4 separate regions of the Homo sapiens genome follow, and all the other regions are linked to region 1. Evidence: promoter capture Hi-C in 16 types of primary human blood cells and fetal thymus (Javierre and others, 2016). All regions are on one chromosome and are shown on one strand. The core of a region is centred on a gene start or on the middle of the fragment in contact, and the rest is flanking DNA. Distances in the headings are between cores, read along the strand shown. Region 1 holds the start of PARP14 (poly(ADP-ribose) polymerase family member 14). Region 2 overlaps KPNA1 (karyopherin subunit alpha 1). Region 3 overlaps PARP9 (poly(ADP-ribose) polymerase family member 9). Region 4 overlaps KPNA1 (karyopherin subunit alpha 1).

The links. The method cuts DNA at HindIII sites, captures the fragments that hold promoters and counts their contacts. A CHiCAGO score of 5 or more calls a contact.
Region 2: a fragment that was not itself captured here is called in contact with the fragment with the promoter of PARP14 in region 1 in 1 of 17 cell types (activated CD4 T cells); the score reaches 5.1 in activated CD4 T cells.
Region 3: a contact is called between a fragment that was not itself captured here and the fragment with the promoter of PARP14 in region 1, in 1 of 17 cell types (activated CD4 T cells). The highest score is 5.4, in activated CD4 T cells.
Region 4: a contact is called between a fragment that was not itself captured here and the fragment with the promoter of PARP14 in region 1, in 8 of 17 cell types (megakaryocytes, erythroblasts, endothelial precursors and 5 more). The highest score is 8.7, in megakaryocytes.

What each region holds. Positions count from the first base shown.
Region 1 is chr3:122,679,010-122,682,873 of GRCh38, forward strand. PARP14 (poly(ADP-ribose) polymerase family member 14) reads left to right here and starts at 1,830. Exons shown (of 17, transcript NM_017554.3): 1 at 1,830-2,061. The coding sequence starts at 1,875. RefSeq lists enhancers at 818-937, 1,341-2,113, 1,538-1,937, 2,479-2,568 and a silencer at 2,178-2,227. The HindIII fragment of the contact is 13,941 bases long and covers 1-3,864 here.
Region 2 is chr3:122,504,695-122,508,609 of GRCh38, forward strand. The region is part of intron 1 of KPNA1 (karyopherin subunit alpha 1); the gene reads right to left. Among named protein-coding and RNA genes, the nearest start is that of KPNA1, 8.3 kb to the right of the region's middle. RefSeq lists an enhancer at 3,835-3,884. The HindIII fragment of the contact is 996 bases long and covers 1,909-2,904 here.
Region 3 is chr3:122,527,480-122,531,931 of GRCh38, forward strand. PARP9 (poly(ADP-ribose) polymerase family member 9) reads right to left here. Exons shown (of 11, transcript NM_001146105.2): 11 at 445-1,264. The coding sequence ends at 885. LOC105374071 (a long non-coding RNA gene) reads left to right here. Exons shown (of 5, transcript XR_001740869.2): 3 at 219-312; 4 at 3,645-3,740. Among named protein-coding and RNA genes, the nearest start is that of KPNA1, 15 kb to the left of the region's middle. The HindIII fragment of the contact is 9,672 bases long and covers 1-4,452 here.
Region 4 is chr3:122,454,337-122,458,360 of GRCh38, forward strand. The region is part of intron 5 of KPNA1 (karyopherin subunit alpha 1); the gene reads right to left. Among named protein-coding and RNA genes, the nearest start is that of WDR5B-DT, 40 kb to the left of the region's middle. The HindIII fragment of the contact is 2,903 bases long and covers 781-3,683 here.

The sequences.
Region 1 (3,864 bases), core at 580-3,079:
GCAGACCTCGGTGGTAAGACACATTGTCGATAATTAAATAAATCCTCGAAAGTAATCCAGAAATGCCTCTGACTTTATTTCTTATACAATAATTATGTGAGGAAAAAGGGAAACTTTTTGCTGAGTTCTGGAACCCCAAACTCAGGGGAGAGTGGGAGAGGAGGAGTGCTGATTTTAGTTGTGGTTTGGGATGAGATGTAAAGGCCCTGGGGAGAAACAGTCACCAAGTCTGGCTGAGGGCGCTTGTCCTCCCGTCTTCCGCATGCGGGGGTCCAGAGCAGTTTTGGATCAGATGATGAGCGCCATCTGCAGGTAGCAAGCTGGAGGCAGGAGAAAATATCTGTGTACTGTTTAGGATTATTACAGAGCCGAAATAAAAGCCAGGTAAACCATTTGGCCCATCTCTGGTTCTCTTCATTCTGAAATTCAGCCCGATCCTGTAACCCCACAACCTACTGCCTGGCTCCTTCTTCCCCTTCACGGTCACATTTCTGCAAAGAGCGTGTTACGCTCTCTGCTTCCACTTCCTTCCCTCCCTTTCAGTCTTCAGTAGCTGCCATCTCCCTCTCCTCCCTCCTCACCAGGAGACTATGCTTGCCGCTCCTCAGCAGTCCAGCAGACACTTCTCTGACCTGAGGTATCGGTAGCACTGGAATGATAATCCCCCCGCCCCCCTCGACTTGCAACACTGCTTTATTTGGGGTCAAGGAAACACACAGCCCCAGCTTCTCTCCCATCACTCGGCCTCCCCTCTTGCAGATGCCACTATTATCCAGCCACTTGCACGGGCCATCCATGGCTGACCATGGAGTCATCCTTGAGCTTCTCCTTCTCTCAAGGCTCACATTCTTCAGCAAGTCCTGCTTTCACTATTAATTGAGAATCCTCGTTTTCTCAGTTCTTCTCTGCCAGCACCCCAGTCTCAGCCACCCTTGTCTCTCACTTAGGACACTATGGTAGCCACTTGGCTGATCTCTCTGCCTCCACTCTAGCCACCACGCAGCAGCCGGAGTGATCCTGTACATGTGAATCACACCGTGGAACCCCACTTCCTAACCCTCCAAGGCTATCCCCTGATATCCTGGGGTTATCAGGTTACATGTCACCGCCCTATAAACCCTCCCTGAGCCGCCACAGCTGGACTAGGAGCCACTCCTCATCTGTTCCAGGAACACAAGTATATTCTTTCCCAGAGCACCTATTGCCCACTGTGTTCACCATAGCTCCGTGAGCTCAGCGAGGGTTCAGTGAGTGAGTGCATGGCGCCTAGTAAATATTCCACAAAAAAAACTGTGAGTGTAATTGTTTCCCCCACATTTCTAGACATGTAGTATTAACAGATCAAGGAACAGAAAGCAAAACAGGGAAAGCAACGTAAAATTCTGATAATCACAATGATTGCTGAAAAAGTCCCCAAATAGGCAGCAAACATTCTAAAGGGGCCACAGTTTGTGAGTCATTTTATTCTTTTGTAAAGGGTCGGCTTGCGGCAAAAATTAAATGATCTTTGCGTTTGGGCAAGGTCTGGTGCCCCAAAGCTGCCGACTTGATCTGCGGTTGGGGCGAGCGGCAGGTAGGGGGCCCGGAGTTAGGAGGGGGTGTGGGAGCCCGTGGAGCACAGGTGAACTGAGGCCGCCTTCCCGGGGCGCCGCTGGCCAGCCCCAAAGGGTTACTTTGGCCTTGGCTGTGGGCCGAATGCGAAGGTGGGGAGGTGGGCGGGGGATGACTCTGCCATTCCTGGGTCCGCTGTGTTAGGCTGAAGGCAAAAGGAAACCAAGGCCTGGGAGTTTTCCAGGAAACGAAAGCGAAAGAGTCAAAGTTAGCGGCCCGGAGTTGGCGCGGCCCCTGCAGTCCGGCGGAGAGCGGAGCTGAGGATGGCTGTGCCCGGCTCCTTCCCGCTGCTGGTCGAGGGCTCCTGGGGCCCCGACCCCCCGAAGAACTTGAACACCAAGTTGCAGATGTACTTCCAGAGCCCGAAGAGGTCGGGAGGCGGCGAGTGTGAGGTCCGCCAGGATCCCAGGAGCCCATCCCGCTTCCTGGTGTTCTTCTACCCGGAGGACGGTGAGGGGCGCGAGGGGTGGGGTGAGGAGGGGGCACCTCTGCCCTCCCTCCAGGGAAATGGCGGCAGGGCACGCACGGGAGGGTGACCCGCCCGACTTCGGCGGCTGCTGTAGCGGAGGTGGCCGGGGCGGGGGCGGGGGCGGGGGCGGCAGAATGGATTCCGAGCGCACCCGGGGCGCTGCGGTTCCCCGGCGCCCTGCGCTTCCAGGCGCTTAATGGCGCGGCCCGGAGGTGGCGGCGGAACCGCGCAAGTAACTCTTTATCCCTCGATCGTTTTCTGTCTTTCCCTGTTGTGGTGGTGTTATTGTTTGTTGTTGTTGTTGTGGAAGTGAGTCTATCCTCTTATCATCCTTTTCTGTCTTTTCCTGTTGTTATTATTCTTGTGTGGGGAAGGAAACTGATTAAGAAACGTGGCAAGTCACAGAGATTCCTTGTGGTTCTTGGAGATTCCCAGGGGTCCCGGGGTCACTTGGGAGAGGGGCAGAGGCGCTACCTAAAATCACACTGCCTGAATGTCAACGTAGAGCCGTCACAGCGGCCACATTGGAGGGGCTGTCGATCGACCACAGGTGCCCATTGTCGAGGGCCTGCCGGGGCCTCTTCTCCGAGTCTCTAGTGGCCCTCAGATTGGGAGCAAGGATGATATTCTGAAGTGATTGTGGGTTGGGAGATTTGAGCTTTGGAGGGAAAGTCGGCAAAGTTCCCTCCTTACAGACCCACCACTACTTGGTGGGCCAAGAGCCCAGAGGTGATCTGCTGGCTCAAGGGCCTCCCTGGTCTGCAATGGGAAGCCAGTGACCTGCAGCTCCCAGAATGGGCACCTTTTCCACTGGCATCTTATGGATGATGACCTATCGGGATCTAGTCAACCCCTAATTCCGCTTTCATGTCGCTAGATTTGGAGAAGCATTCGGGCCAGAGGAGAGGCAAGGAGGCTGAGGCTGAGGCCATGCAATTAGAGTGCCCAAGCAGGGATCCAAAAAGGAAAAATGAAACAGAAAAAGAATGGCGCACAGAAGGAAGGAAGGAGGGGGACAGGAGATATGCTTGGCTCATGGCCCTTATGAAAACAAAATACCATGTTTTCCTAGGATTAATTTTACCAAGGAGTGCTCAGAAGGGCAACTGTGTGATATTAGTCATTTCTCTTTTGGGTGTCACTTTTCCTTGAGGGTTTTCCCCACTTTGACTTCAGAGGTCAGCATCACCATCGATCTGGCCCTTAAGGATGCTTCTTTCTCCTTTAGATTCCATTATCCTTAGAAGTAGGTCTGACCTGCATCTGAATCACCTGGAGAGCAGGTTAACCAGGCACCTTCCCAGCTCTGTTTTAGAGATTCAGGTTCAGTGAATGTGGGGTGGGTGGGAAGCGTGTATTTAACCGGCAGCCCAGGTGACCCTAATGTGTTCAAGTTTCAGAATTTCCGTAGTTAATGTTAACCCCAAATGAACAAAAAGAAATAATTATACAAATTTAAACAGCATGAAAATACAAATAGCACAAAGTATAATTTTGTGATGATAAAATAACTCAATTCTAGCCCTCCAAGCAGAAAAGATTTCAGTCTTCCTGCTGGGCTTCCATCCTTGACCGGCCCCAGCCCACTACTCCTCTTCCTCCACCCCCAGGCTGCTCCAGTGGCCCCTCTTGTCTTACCCCCCAGCACAGATGACCCAAAACTTATTAAAACTCAAAACCGGCCGGGCGTGGTGGCTCACGCCTGTTAATCCCAGCACTTTGGGAGGCTGAGGCAGGTGGATGACGAGTTGAGGAGATCGAGACCATCCTTGAGCAACATGGTG
Region 2 (3,915 bases), core at 1,157-3,656, 170 kb before region 1:
CCCAAGAGGGGACAACCAATCTCATTTATGGATACTGGTGAGATTTTTAAGTTTCACTCCTTTCACTCTATTACTTCAATGGATGCATTTAGACTTTGGGTGAGAGAGAGAGAGAGATTTTTTAAAACATAAATATCTCATCAGTATCCATAAATGAGATTCGTTGCCCCCTCTTAGGATGGAGAGGGGATTACATTTGTTCTGTTGGGAGAGACTCTTTTTTTTTTTAAACACAAGCCTCAAATGTCCCTCTAAAGAGTCTAATTAATGTGTCTGAAGCAGACAGACACCTCTGGGTTTTTCTTCCTTTTAAGATCCCCAAGTGGGCCAGGCACAGTGGCTCACACCAGTAATCCCATCACTTTGGGAGGCCAAGGGGCGGGCAGATCACTTGAGGTCAGGAGTTCGAGACCAGCCTGGCCAACATGGTGAAACCCCGCCTCTACTAAAAATACAAAAATTAGCCAGCATAGTGGCATGCACCTGTGAGTCCAGGTACTTGGGAGGATGAGGCATAAGTATGGCTTGAACCCGGGAGGCAGAAGTTGCAGTGAGCCAGGATTGTACCACTGCATGCCTCAAAAAAAAAAAAAAAAAAAAATCCAAGCAAATTCTGATATGCATCTGCAGTTGAAAATCACTATAGTAGAGCAAAAGTTTTATTTTAAAACAATGTAAAATACAGTTGAAAATGAAGGCTGAAGTTGGACTGAAGATAGCTTTGATAGGAAAGAAAGGAAATAAATCTCTATGTCTGTAATAAGAGGAATAACAAAGTAATTGTATGAGAAAATTAGTTTATCCTAAGCAAATATTTTTAGGTGTTATCACCTAAGCTACTAATTAAAAATTGTAAGTTACTTTTCAAAGTACCCTCTCAGGAATCAGAAGCCTTCAAAATTAAAGCCATTATACCTAAATTTCCTCTTGTTTTCTAGAGAAATAAAGCCAAAGAAGCAATAAACTTAAAAACAAGATGCAATACTGGTGGTGAAATAGAAACACACTCTTTCAAAGACAGATCCCCTCACTTTCTCCTTCATGTCTAGTTACTCAATTATCAAATTTTGCTTATTCTATCCAAAGTCTTTGATTTTATCTGATCCGATCTATTCCCACTGCCACCAGCCTGGCTCAAGTCTGTGTCAACTGACACCTAGATAACTACAACAGCTCTAAACCAGCATTCTTAACCTCAGACTCTTTGCTCCTCAATTCATCCTACACAGCCCTCAGATTAATCTCAACACCCTTTTCACTGTATCACTTCAATGGATAAGGAACTACAACGTTTTTAACCACTTCTTAGAACAAGTCTAAACTTCTTGGTCCTGCAAGATCCTTTTGTCTGGATTCATTCAATACCATTCTCCACCACTCTAAACCCAAAACAATGAGTGTAGATCTTTTTATATTTTTATTATATTCAAGATGTTATATATTCAGTGCACTGGGTCAGCCCACCTAATCAGTAAATCTCAAACACATTCTAAATGTTCTGAATATTTAAAATCCATAATACTCTTGTGGAACAACTTGAAATCCTAATATACTTAATTCCACCATATAAATCAGGCATAATTTTATTAGAAAGTATATGATATGCATTTACTATTAAAAACCAAAACTACAAGAAAGTATGACTACAAAAAAGTTATGAATTTAAATAAGTGGAGTATAAGTATAAAGTGTTCAGTTCATTTGAAAATATAAATTATTGATGTTAACAGCTTCTAGTCAAACGATAGTAGGTCCGTTTAAAATATTTTAATAGAAATTAGAAAAGAAAATTAAAATTTGAAATATCCTACCCATTCTTTTCCTATACGATAATTAAGGAGTAGCTTTATTTTTATTAAGAGCATTTCAGTGTTCAATGAAAGCAAAGTTTGAAAAACCCTTCAATAAAGCTTTTCCTGTGAGAAGTCAATGTGGCAGACATATGATTCATAGGTGTTCATCTCTGGCCTCATCTTATAGCTCTAACCAATAATCCAATGGCAATACATATTTTCTTTCACAGCCCAGTTTCAAATGTTTTCCTTTGAGAGGTTTATCATAACCTTTGCCCCAAATTCTGACCCCCAACTCCCAGTATCTATAGGTTCCCAAGCTGGGAAGTTCTCCAAAGACATTCTCAATATCAAAACACTTAAAGGAAAATATCTGTCAAGGATCTGGAGAACTCAAACCCTGAATTGAATACTTCCACTTTTAGAATGTACATAAAGGAAACAAAACTAGTAGTATGTGTAAGACTGTTCACTGCAGTGTGATTATTCTAGTGAAAAATTGTAAAAAACCTAAAAGTTCCAATATGAGGGCTTGGTTAAAGGAAATGTTCACAATGTATTGAGAAAACAGAACACTAACATGAAAAATCTGAATGCTGGGAACAAAAACCCAACCTACACTATTCTCTATACTTTCGAAAAATATTTCGTAACTTAAGAAATCAGAATATAGCTGGGCGCAGTAGTTCACACCTGTAATCCCAGCACTTTGGGAGGCCAAGGCGGGCGGATCACCAGAGGTCAGGAGTTCGAGACCAGCCTGGCCAACATGGGGAAACCCCATTTCTATTAAAAATACAAAAATTAGCCGGGCGTGGTGGCGGGCGCTTGCAATCCCAGCTACTCGGGAGGTTGAGGCAGGAGAATCACTTGAACCCAGATGGCAGAGGTTGCAGTGAGCTGAGATTGTGCCATTGCACTCCAGCCTGGGCGACAGAGCAAGACTCCATCTCAAAAAAAAAAAAAAAGAAAAGAGAAGATATCAGCATATAAAATTTGAATATGGAAATATTATTTTATCTTCCAAATTTTCTGTGATAAGCAATATACTGATTATACAAGAAAAAAACTTTCAAAAAGTAGAGCTGAAAGCATATGTTTACTATGATAAAGCTTATCAACCTACCTAAAACACTGAATTTCTATACTTTTCACTACTATTTTTTCAACTGAGTATGCTGTTATTTCTTCAGAAGTTCTGATCTTTATGGTCTTTATGAAGGAGAAAAATTATCTCTTATCTAAAAGTTGAATGATTTTTTGGGGGGTTAAAAAAAAAAAAAGACAAATCTTTCCAGAAGATGACATAAAGGGTTCGTTCCCTCAGTAGTAAAAAAATTTTTAATCGCAAAAACTTGCCTTCATTCAATTCATATCCATTAATGAATTTAATAACCACTGTAATATATCTGTTTTAAGAACACTTATGAGGGTTTTCAAATTTCAAATCAGGAATTAGCACATATAGACTGCACTTTTCTTCCCATATCATATTAACTCAAAGCCAGAAATTCAATTTTAATCTTCAATAGGCACACAGTGGTCATTCAAATGCTGTGAAAAAATGAACAGAGGAGAAAACAAAGAGTTTATGTAAAGAAATAAAATGGTAGACATGGTAGAATACTAAAATTATAAAGAAATTTTTTTTTCAAATAAATGAACCAGAACCACGGCATAAAGAGAATAGGTAAGCAAAAGAATCAGAGATGGTGTCAAAACCTAAAAGAAGCCATAAAATAGACAAATTATATGTCACTAGCAAAGTGGAAAACTCTGAAGCCTAACCTGCAAACGAAGAAGGCAATAAGAAACAAGCTGATTCACACTACCTACCCACAAACAGGATGCTTCAGACAGATCATCCAGGTACTATCCCTCCTTAAGGTAGTGAGGAGTTGGGCTCAAAATCAGAAGGTTTGTTGAAAGTCTACAAAACAGCCATCACATGCCCAGATTTCCTCCTCCACTCTTCACAACCAGACAACCATCCTTCAGTAATCCCTTCAAATGGGTGCTCCAATGCAGGTGAGGGTGGGGGTGAGGTGCCTTATTGATAACAGAATTACATGAGCACAACAGTAAAAACCCAAGCTCCTTTTCTAAAATGAGTTCTCAAAAC
Region 3 (4,452 bases), core at 1,013-3,512, 150 kb before region 1:
AGGCTATTCTTTCTACCTAAACAACTCTTCTGACTGCTCCTGATTTGCTACATCCCTTATGTTCTCAGCTTGAATTTCACTTGCTTTAGGAGGCCTTGCTCCAAGCCCCTGATTAATCTATCCCTCTCTGTCTTCAATTTTTCCATAAACTCTGTAGTTCTCTTTTTGTTATATCTAATCACACTTGTTAAGTTGTCCATGCCTTTTTGATTATTCAGGCTAAAAGGTTTATGAAGACATCTGTCTTGTCCGGCATCATATCCTGGGACCCACAAAGTGACTGAAATATATCTGGTGGTCAATATATATTTGGTGAGTAGATAATATGTCCTCATGGTGTTTGAGTGGCATTGCTTGATGTAGCTGAATCCAAATAGAATATCAGCTTTTTTATGTCCTTCCACTTCAAATTGTTTCATTTTACACATAATTTTTCAGAGCCAGTTAATCAGACAAAGATGATTTATTTTCATACCTAAAGCACTTTATAATATTCTCTGGAAAATCTAAAATCATTCTGTTATCCTAACATTTTTATACTATCATCATTTTAGAAAATAAAAGGCCTGCGTTATATACTAGAAAAATTTCTTCATTATATGCAAAATATTTATCTCCTCTAGTAAAGGAGATTAAAGAACAACTGCAAGAGGAAGGAAGGTCCTGAAAGTGTTTCATTTGGTATCTACCTACCCCAACCCCAAGACATAAAGACAGATAAAGGCACTAAGATGCTAGTATGTGGCTAGTCCTTTCAATAACCCAGTCAGTCCATACAGATAACCCATGGGATATATTCAAGCCACTCTTTGAGCCATCGATGGTCATTATTTGGTTAGTTCACCCAAGGTAAGGCCATACCAGCTGTTAAAATGATGTAGAGATTAATCAACAGGGCTGCCACTTGCGAATCCCCTCCAAGGATGCTGTGCAAAGGGTCTCATTGGTCCTGATGAGTAATCTTGTGACTGTACATATTCCTGGGTGCATGTCCACAAATACTGAGGTATAGCCTGCATGCCACTAAAAATAACAAAGGTTTCAGGGCTGGAGACATTGTCAACCACACTGTCATGACCATCTATAGCTCCAGGACTCAGTGGTGGGGGAACAATATTTAACGGATGTCCCTGGCAGAAGAAGCCTGTGAGTACTTCAGCCTCAAACACATAGATCAGCTTATCTGCAGCAGAGATTTTCTTGGCCTTCTCTGCCAGGTTTTTGAGGTTCTTGGTGAAGTATATGCCAGCTCCGTATTTTGGATCTGATAAAGGAAAAAATAAAATAAAAAGATTATTATAATCTGGTAAATGATATTGCCGATTTGGGTACTAATATCTATTCTTTCTTTAGTCTTCCAAATAATCACTTCCTCCTGATTCTGAGTTCCTGTGTCTATAGCAAAGACACTCAAAATTGTTCCTTGAAACAAATTATCACTGACACCATCAACATCATAATAACTTACATTCAAATATACCATTAGGGCTGGGCACAGTGGCTCACACCTGTAATCCCTGCACTTTGGGAGGCTGAGGCGGGTGGAACACCTGAGGTCAGAAGCCTGGCCAACATGATGATACCCCGTCTCTACTAAAAATACAAAAATTTAGCCAGGTGTGGTGGCAGGCACCTGCAATCCCAGCTACTCAGGAGGCTGAGGCAGGAGAATCACTTGAACCCAGGAGTCGGAGGTTGTAGTGAGCCAAGATCGCACCACTGCACTCCAACCTGGGCAATAAGAGCGAAACTCTTAAAAAAAAAAAAAAAAAAAAAAAAGAACCATTAGTGTTCATAGAGAAGTTAATGGTTTTCAAAGTATTGCACATTGATTAGATTAAATTATCTGTGATTTGGGTAGTAACTCCACGTAAAAGACAAAGATCTGAGATTCAAAGAACTTAGATTCAAGTCAGTATTATCAACTAAGTAGCTGACAGAGCATAACAAAAGGAAGGTTCTGTTTCCCTTAGAACATTGTCTGACTTCGGCCGGGCGCGGTGGCTCACGCCTGTAATCCCAGCACTTTGGTAGGCCGAGGCGGGCTGATCACGAGGTCAGGAGATGGACACCATCCTGGCTAACACGGTGAAACCCCGTCTCTACTAAAAAAAATACAAAAAAATTAGCCGGGCGCAGTTGGGGGCGCCTGTAGTCCCAGCTACTCCGGGGGCTGAGGCAGGAGAATGGCATGAACCCGGGAGGCGGAGCTTGCAGTGAGCCGAGGTTGCGCCACTGCACTCCAGCCTGGGCAACACAGCGAGACTCCGTCCCAAAAAAAAAAAAAAAAAAGAACATTGTCTGACTTCTACATGCTACAAATAGGGATATTTCCAGAACTCTCAAGAAGATGGTTTGAAAATAGCATCTAATAAGAGAAGACGGAGTGCCTCCTAACCTCATGAACAGCATTACAAGAAAAATATGTCATCTGGGCCCGGTGGTACACACCTGTAATCCCAGCACTTTGGGAGGCCAAAGTGGGTGGATCGCTTAAGCCCAGTATGGGCAACATGGCAAAACCCTATCCCCACAAAGAATACAAAAATTAACCAGGCATGGTGGTGCACACCTGTAATCATAGCTACTCAGGAGGCTGAGGTGGGAGGACTGATTGAACTCAGGAGGTTGAGGTTGCAGTGAGCTGTGATCGTGCCACTGCACTCCAACCTGGGTGACAAAGCAAGGCCCTGTCTCAAAAAAAAAAAAAAAAAAAAAGGAAAGAAAAAGAAAAATATGTCAAGGGGAATGTGGAGTATATAAAATGACAGTGTGCATACTTCATTGTTTAGGAAAAGCACTCCTGGATTTGGAAGGACAGAGGCATTCTAGTCACCAGGAGGGTATTGTGTACTCTCCATGGGTTGGCACAATACCTCATGAAGAATCTCCACGTGCATGTTATCTAGGTCCATGCTCACCGGGCAACTTTCCACCCATCAAGCACTCTGGGGACTGTGATACTAAGGAAGATATGCCCTATTCCCACCACTAGAAATGAGTACTCTCCATTCTGACACATTGCCTGTGATCTGTATTATCTTCTTTGGGGTATTAAAAACACTCAGGAGGCTGAGGGCCAAATTCTGGATCTCGAAGTAATCCCTGTTCACTGCCCTTTCTGACCTCACTTAGAGGGAAAAAAATTATACCTTCTTTGATGCCATATTATCCTTCCTTCCTTTCCTTTTTTCATTTCTTCCCTCTCTTTCTTTATGTGGGATGTAACCAAACACTTTTAGGCTCAAGAGCAGAACTAAACAACAGAAACGTACTATGAGTCACACATGTCGTTTAAAACTTCCAGGCTGAGTGGCTCATGTCTGTAATCCCAGCACTTTGGGAGGCCAAGGCAGGAGGATTGGTGGAGGTCAGGAGTTTGAGACTAGCCTGGGCAACACAGTGAGACCCAATCTCTACCAAAAATAAAAAAATTAGTCAGGTATTGTGCCACTCACCTGGATTCCCAGCTACTCTAGTAGCCACATTTTAAAACATTTTTTTAAAAAAGGTGAAATTAACATTTTTATTTAAGCCATTCAAGATGTTATTTTAACATGTAATCTATATTTTGAAAAGTATTAGATATTTTACATTCTTTTGTAGTAGGTCTTTGAAATCCGGTGTGTATTTTATACTTACAGCATCTTTCAATTTAGACCGGCCACATTTCAAGTGCTCAATAGCCGCATGTAGCTAGCGGCTACAATATTGAACAGTGCAGCTCTGGAAATTTAAAAGTGAGTAAGATATGATCCCTATTCTCAACATTTCACAAAGGGAAGTCTCATCATGTAAACAGATAAAATATAGTACAATTTATGTGGCAAGGTAATATTTTGAGATAAAAATCAAAGATTTTCTTTCCCGGGAGTTTCTTCTTGCTCTTTGTTCTTCCACCTATTGAGTCCTTGCTACTTCTTATTAAGGGCGAAAAGGATAAAGATGAGAACAAAGTCTATATATAAATATATGTATAGTTTTTTGAGAACTGCCTGCTGGGTGCAGTGGCTCACATCTGTAATCCCAGCACTTCGGGAGGCCGAGGCGGGTGGATCACGAGGTCAGGAGTTCGAGACCAGCCTGGCCAACATGGTGAAACCCCGTATAACTGTATGTATATAATTGTATGTATCTATATGTTTGTGTTTACAAGTACATATATATATATGTAATTATTTTTAATTCACAGAAGAGAGTATGGTCTTGAAATTCTGGCTTTCAGAGTTAGCTTTTCTGAGAGGAAAAGGGCTTTTTGAACCAAAAGCTAAAAACCAGAAGGATTCAGAGCATGGGTTGTTTTTTTTTATTATTTTATTTTGTTTACCATAAATGACAGAGCAGAGAGTAATACAAAATATTCTAAGAACATTTTTCTCATTTCAAGACAAATGAAAGTTCTTTCTTCCAGCTGGTGGGAAAAGAAGTATCAGAAGTGATGTGACTAGAGCT
Region 4 (4,024 bases), core at 982-3,481, 220 kb before region 1:
CCATATTTTCTAAAAGCGTTAAAAAGGAATATATGCATTAATTTACTTATTGCACAGATTATCTTCAGAATGAGTTAGAGGAAACTAAATACTTGTTGCCTGCATAGAAAGGTGATGGTAACTAGGGAATAAGGATGAAAAAGATACTTTTCACTGGAAAGCTTTATGTGCCTTTTAGCCTGTACCATGTATGTTATCTAATAAAAAAGATTTAAAAACTTCTGTAGAATGGGCAAAGTAAAATGGGGGGAGAATGTTAGTGTGAAACATAAAATACAGGCACAGTGAAAAAGGCAAAAGGTATCAAATGATAAGTAGGTGAAAGGAGTTAACAGCACATAATGAAAAGAAATGACAACTTCAAAGAATAAGAGCTTCCAATAAATGAGAGAGCTCCAAACCAAAATACAGAGATAGGACTTTTTGGGCATTCTTAATAGGGAGGGAAAAATGAAGGTAAACTGACTAAAGGTTGATATATAGCATTACAGCACTGGTAAACAGAAGATATAAAGGAAATTATGGCCAACAAAAAATAGAGCATATTACTAAAATATATCTCTAACACTAACTTGACTCTTTAGCTTAATATTGAGAAATCCAATAATGAACTCTTTTCTATTTAGTTAAGAGTTCTTAATTACATTTCAGGTTGTTTCTTCCACCATTCTGTCTTCTATTTAATAAAGCACATACACAGAAAAAAAGAAAAATTCCATGGCATGTCCTTTAAATCAGAGAAAATAACAAGTCGTCATCAAATGACCTGTGATTCTTCTAAGCTTCCAGATTAACTAAAAGGTAGCTGTCAGGTAGAAAACTAAATTCATTAATCTTTGGGAATAGAGGAAGACAGGAAAATGGGCCATCTGATCAAATCACGTTCAAAGCCATGTTAGTGATAGAAAATTCATAGCAGAAGACACATAACCAATGGATGTTCCAAAGAAAACTATAAAAGTGACATACATGAGTGAGGTAAGGTGGTTTAGTAGCAGCAGGGAGGCCCAGAGTAGGAGTACTTCGGTTAAAGAGCCCGTATCTGGTCCCTTTTTGTTATAACAAAAATTCTGGGGACTTACAGATTAAACCCCAGATATCATGAAATAAAAATTCTTCCCATATTTATCTCTATGATTAAATTACTAATGAAAGCAACACTCAGTCCCTTTCAGTACGTCTGAATTAAAACTTGACATTTGTACCGTACTTTATATTTTCTTTTTTTTCTTTTTTGAGACAGAGTCTCAGTCTTGTTGCCCAGGCTGGAGTGCAATGTCACGTTCTCAGCTCACTGCAACCTCCACCTCCCGGATTCAAGTGATTCTCCTGCCTCAGCCTCCCAAGTAGCTGGGATTACAGGCATGTGCCACCACGCCCGGCTAATTTTTATATTTTTAGTAGAGACGAGGTTTCATCATGTTTGTCAGGCTGGCCTTGAACTCCTGATCTCAAGTCATCCTCCCATCTAGGCCTCCCAAAGTGCTGGGATTACAAGCATGAGCCACCGCACCCGGCCACTTTATATTTTCAAAGTACTATTCACATACTCGCAGATGATCCCTACAACAACCCAGAGATGTAAAGTATCTGGCTTTTCTTGTGTACAAATGAGGAAACTATCTGAAAAAAAATCCAACAATTTGACTAATGACTCGAGTAATGTTACACAGTCAAAGACAAGGACTAAGTTACAGCCTCCTAATCTAATACATTACGAAGCCCAGTCATAGTTTCCTGAAACATAATGCTGACCCAGAAATATTTCATTTGCTTGTAGTTTGGATATCTAGTTCAAGAAATTTTAAATAACAGTATGCCAGATTATTTATACTAAAAAAGAAAAAACAAGTTCACCTAAGATGTAGTTTCTTTTGCTTACTAGGAAAATTAATTTGTAAACCAGAGTCATATGATGTAAGTATAAAAGCAAACTGTCCCACCACAAGGCAGGCTCAAAGTTCAATAAACAGTCATCAGATACTGCAAACATAAAGTCAAATAAATGAAAACTCTAAGGAAAAGCAATCTGGAAAAAAAATAAGATCAGAATACATACCATCTGTATACAAGAAAAAGATTACAGTGAGATTTGGATGCAAAAGAAATTATAATAATAACCTGGGTATACAGGGATATAGTACAGAGTTATTGGTGAGAAAAAATTACTTAGAATTCTAATTGGTGCCAGCGTTCAAACTGCTATTTTGAGTTTAGCACCAAAGATCTCAGGGGAAATGAGGGAGAATTCCAGAAGCTACACAAGTTAATAAAATAGAGAAGCAAAACAATTCAAGTGACAATGACTAAGAAAATGAAAAGTAAGTGAATAACAGCCTGAATACAGATGGTAAAAAAAAGAAATTATTACATCTTAGCAAAAGAATAACATGCCAGTTATGCTTATCACTAAGTAGTACACAATGATGATAACCTCTCAATGCAATTCAGGAATGAAAATCAAAAACAGTTTTGCTATTATTGGGGATAGAAGTAGATGGGTAACTGTAACAAGAGGACCACTGAAAATACAACCATATTCATGCATTAATAAGGCAATAAAACACACACACACAGGGTGCTGATTACTTTGCTGTTTTCACTTTGTGAAAGCTAATCAAGCTGTATTTGTGAAATTTTCTACACCCATCTATACATGTGTGATATGTATGTATGTTTATGCAGGTATCCACATATGTATGAGAGGAGGGAGTAAAAAACAGAATTTCCCTGAGTATAGGCCTCTGTTAATGTTAGAAGAAGTAACTGTTAAACGTATTTATGTTTTTAAAAAATTAGATGTACTTTAAACTACATAACTTCCCTTTCATCATAGTCTGTACTTTAAAGCTGTATTCCACTGAGATTTGCCATCTATTTTTTTGTTTTTTCTAAATGTTTCAGCCTTGGGTACTAGATTAGAATTTAACATGAAATAGTTGTGAAATGGGAAAGCCTAGAATTGATGGCAAACACATATGCATAAAGTTATGATAGAAACAGCCAAAAAAATTAATTAAAGTAAGCAACCCTGTTACCAGGAAATCATTAACCTGGGAAAAAAAAAAATCTAAGAAATGGTATTGCCTGAAGTAACAAATGGTGGCCAAATAAAATCTTCACTTCTTTTGTTGTTTTAAACTACTATATTCTTAATATCCAAGAATGGCATCATACAAGGAAACAAGCTATCATGCAGCTGGAACTACTTATAAACTGTAATTCCACTCATTATTTTTCACTGTCCTGAACTCACTAAATAAGGCTACACCTGAAATCTGCACACTGAAGGTTTGATGTTTTCTCTCTTCCCTTTCTTAGTCTCTACCTTCTGGCGCTCAGTTCCTTAAATAAGGAAAATGAGAATCCAAAGCTGAAGTACTTCTGACCTCCTATCAAGTTTCCCACTCCAGGTTGAGGTACGCCTGGTTCCCTTTCTCCATTTGGATCAGGACTCTGTTGCTGGCCACTTTGCCGGTTCCACTCTGGTTCCTAGCAAATGCCAGGCTCACCTGGAGAGCAAGTGAAAAGAAAGGCTCACATCAGAAAAATAAACCCAGATAGCAAACTCTGCAGAGAACAGTGCCTGAGTCATCTGAGCAACTTTCCAGGAAAGGCAGAGAGATCAATGAAGATGGGAAAAGACACAGGAGGATGAAGGCTTACTGCAGTTTATCACATTAAGCTTTTAGAGGGGACAAGAAAGGCAGAAAAGGGGAAACTAAGCCAATGTAATTCAAATTTACAACTTTTCAAGGATTATCTGTCTAATATTTGGAAATAGAAGGCAATATATTTATTTCTAGCTATTTTTATAAACTTCTATAAGAAAGTTTGGGAATGCCACATCTCAGCATTGCAAAGGACAGCACAAAGATACTGGGCCTGGACTCAAAGAAGCAAAAAAGTAGGCTCACAGACCATGCCATAAACCAGACCAGTCTCATGACAAGGGCTCAAGTCTATCTGAGACCTAGATGTCACTGAGCTTGAGAATGCGCTTAGCTAAAAGCCATTGTCTGCT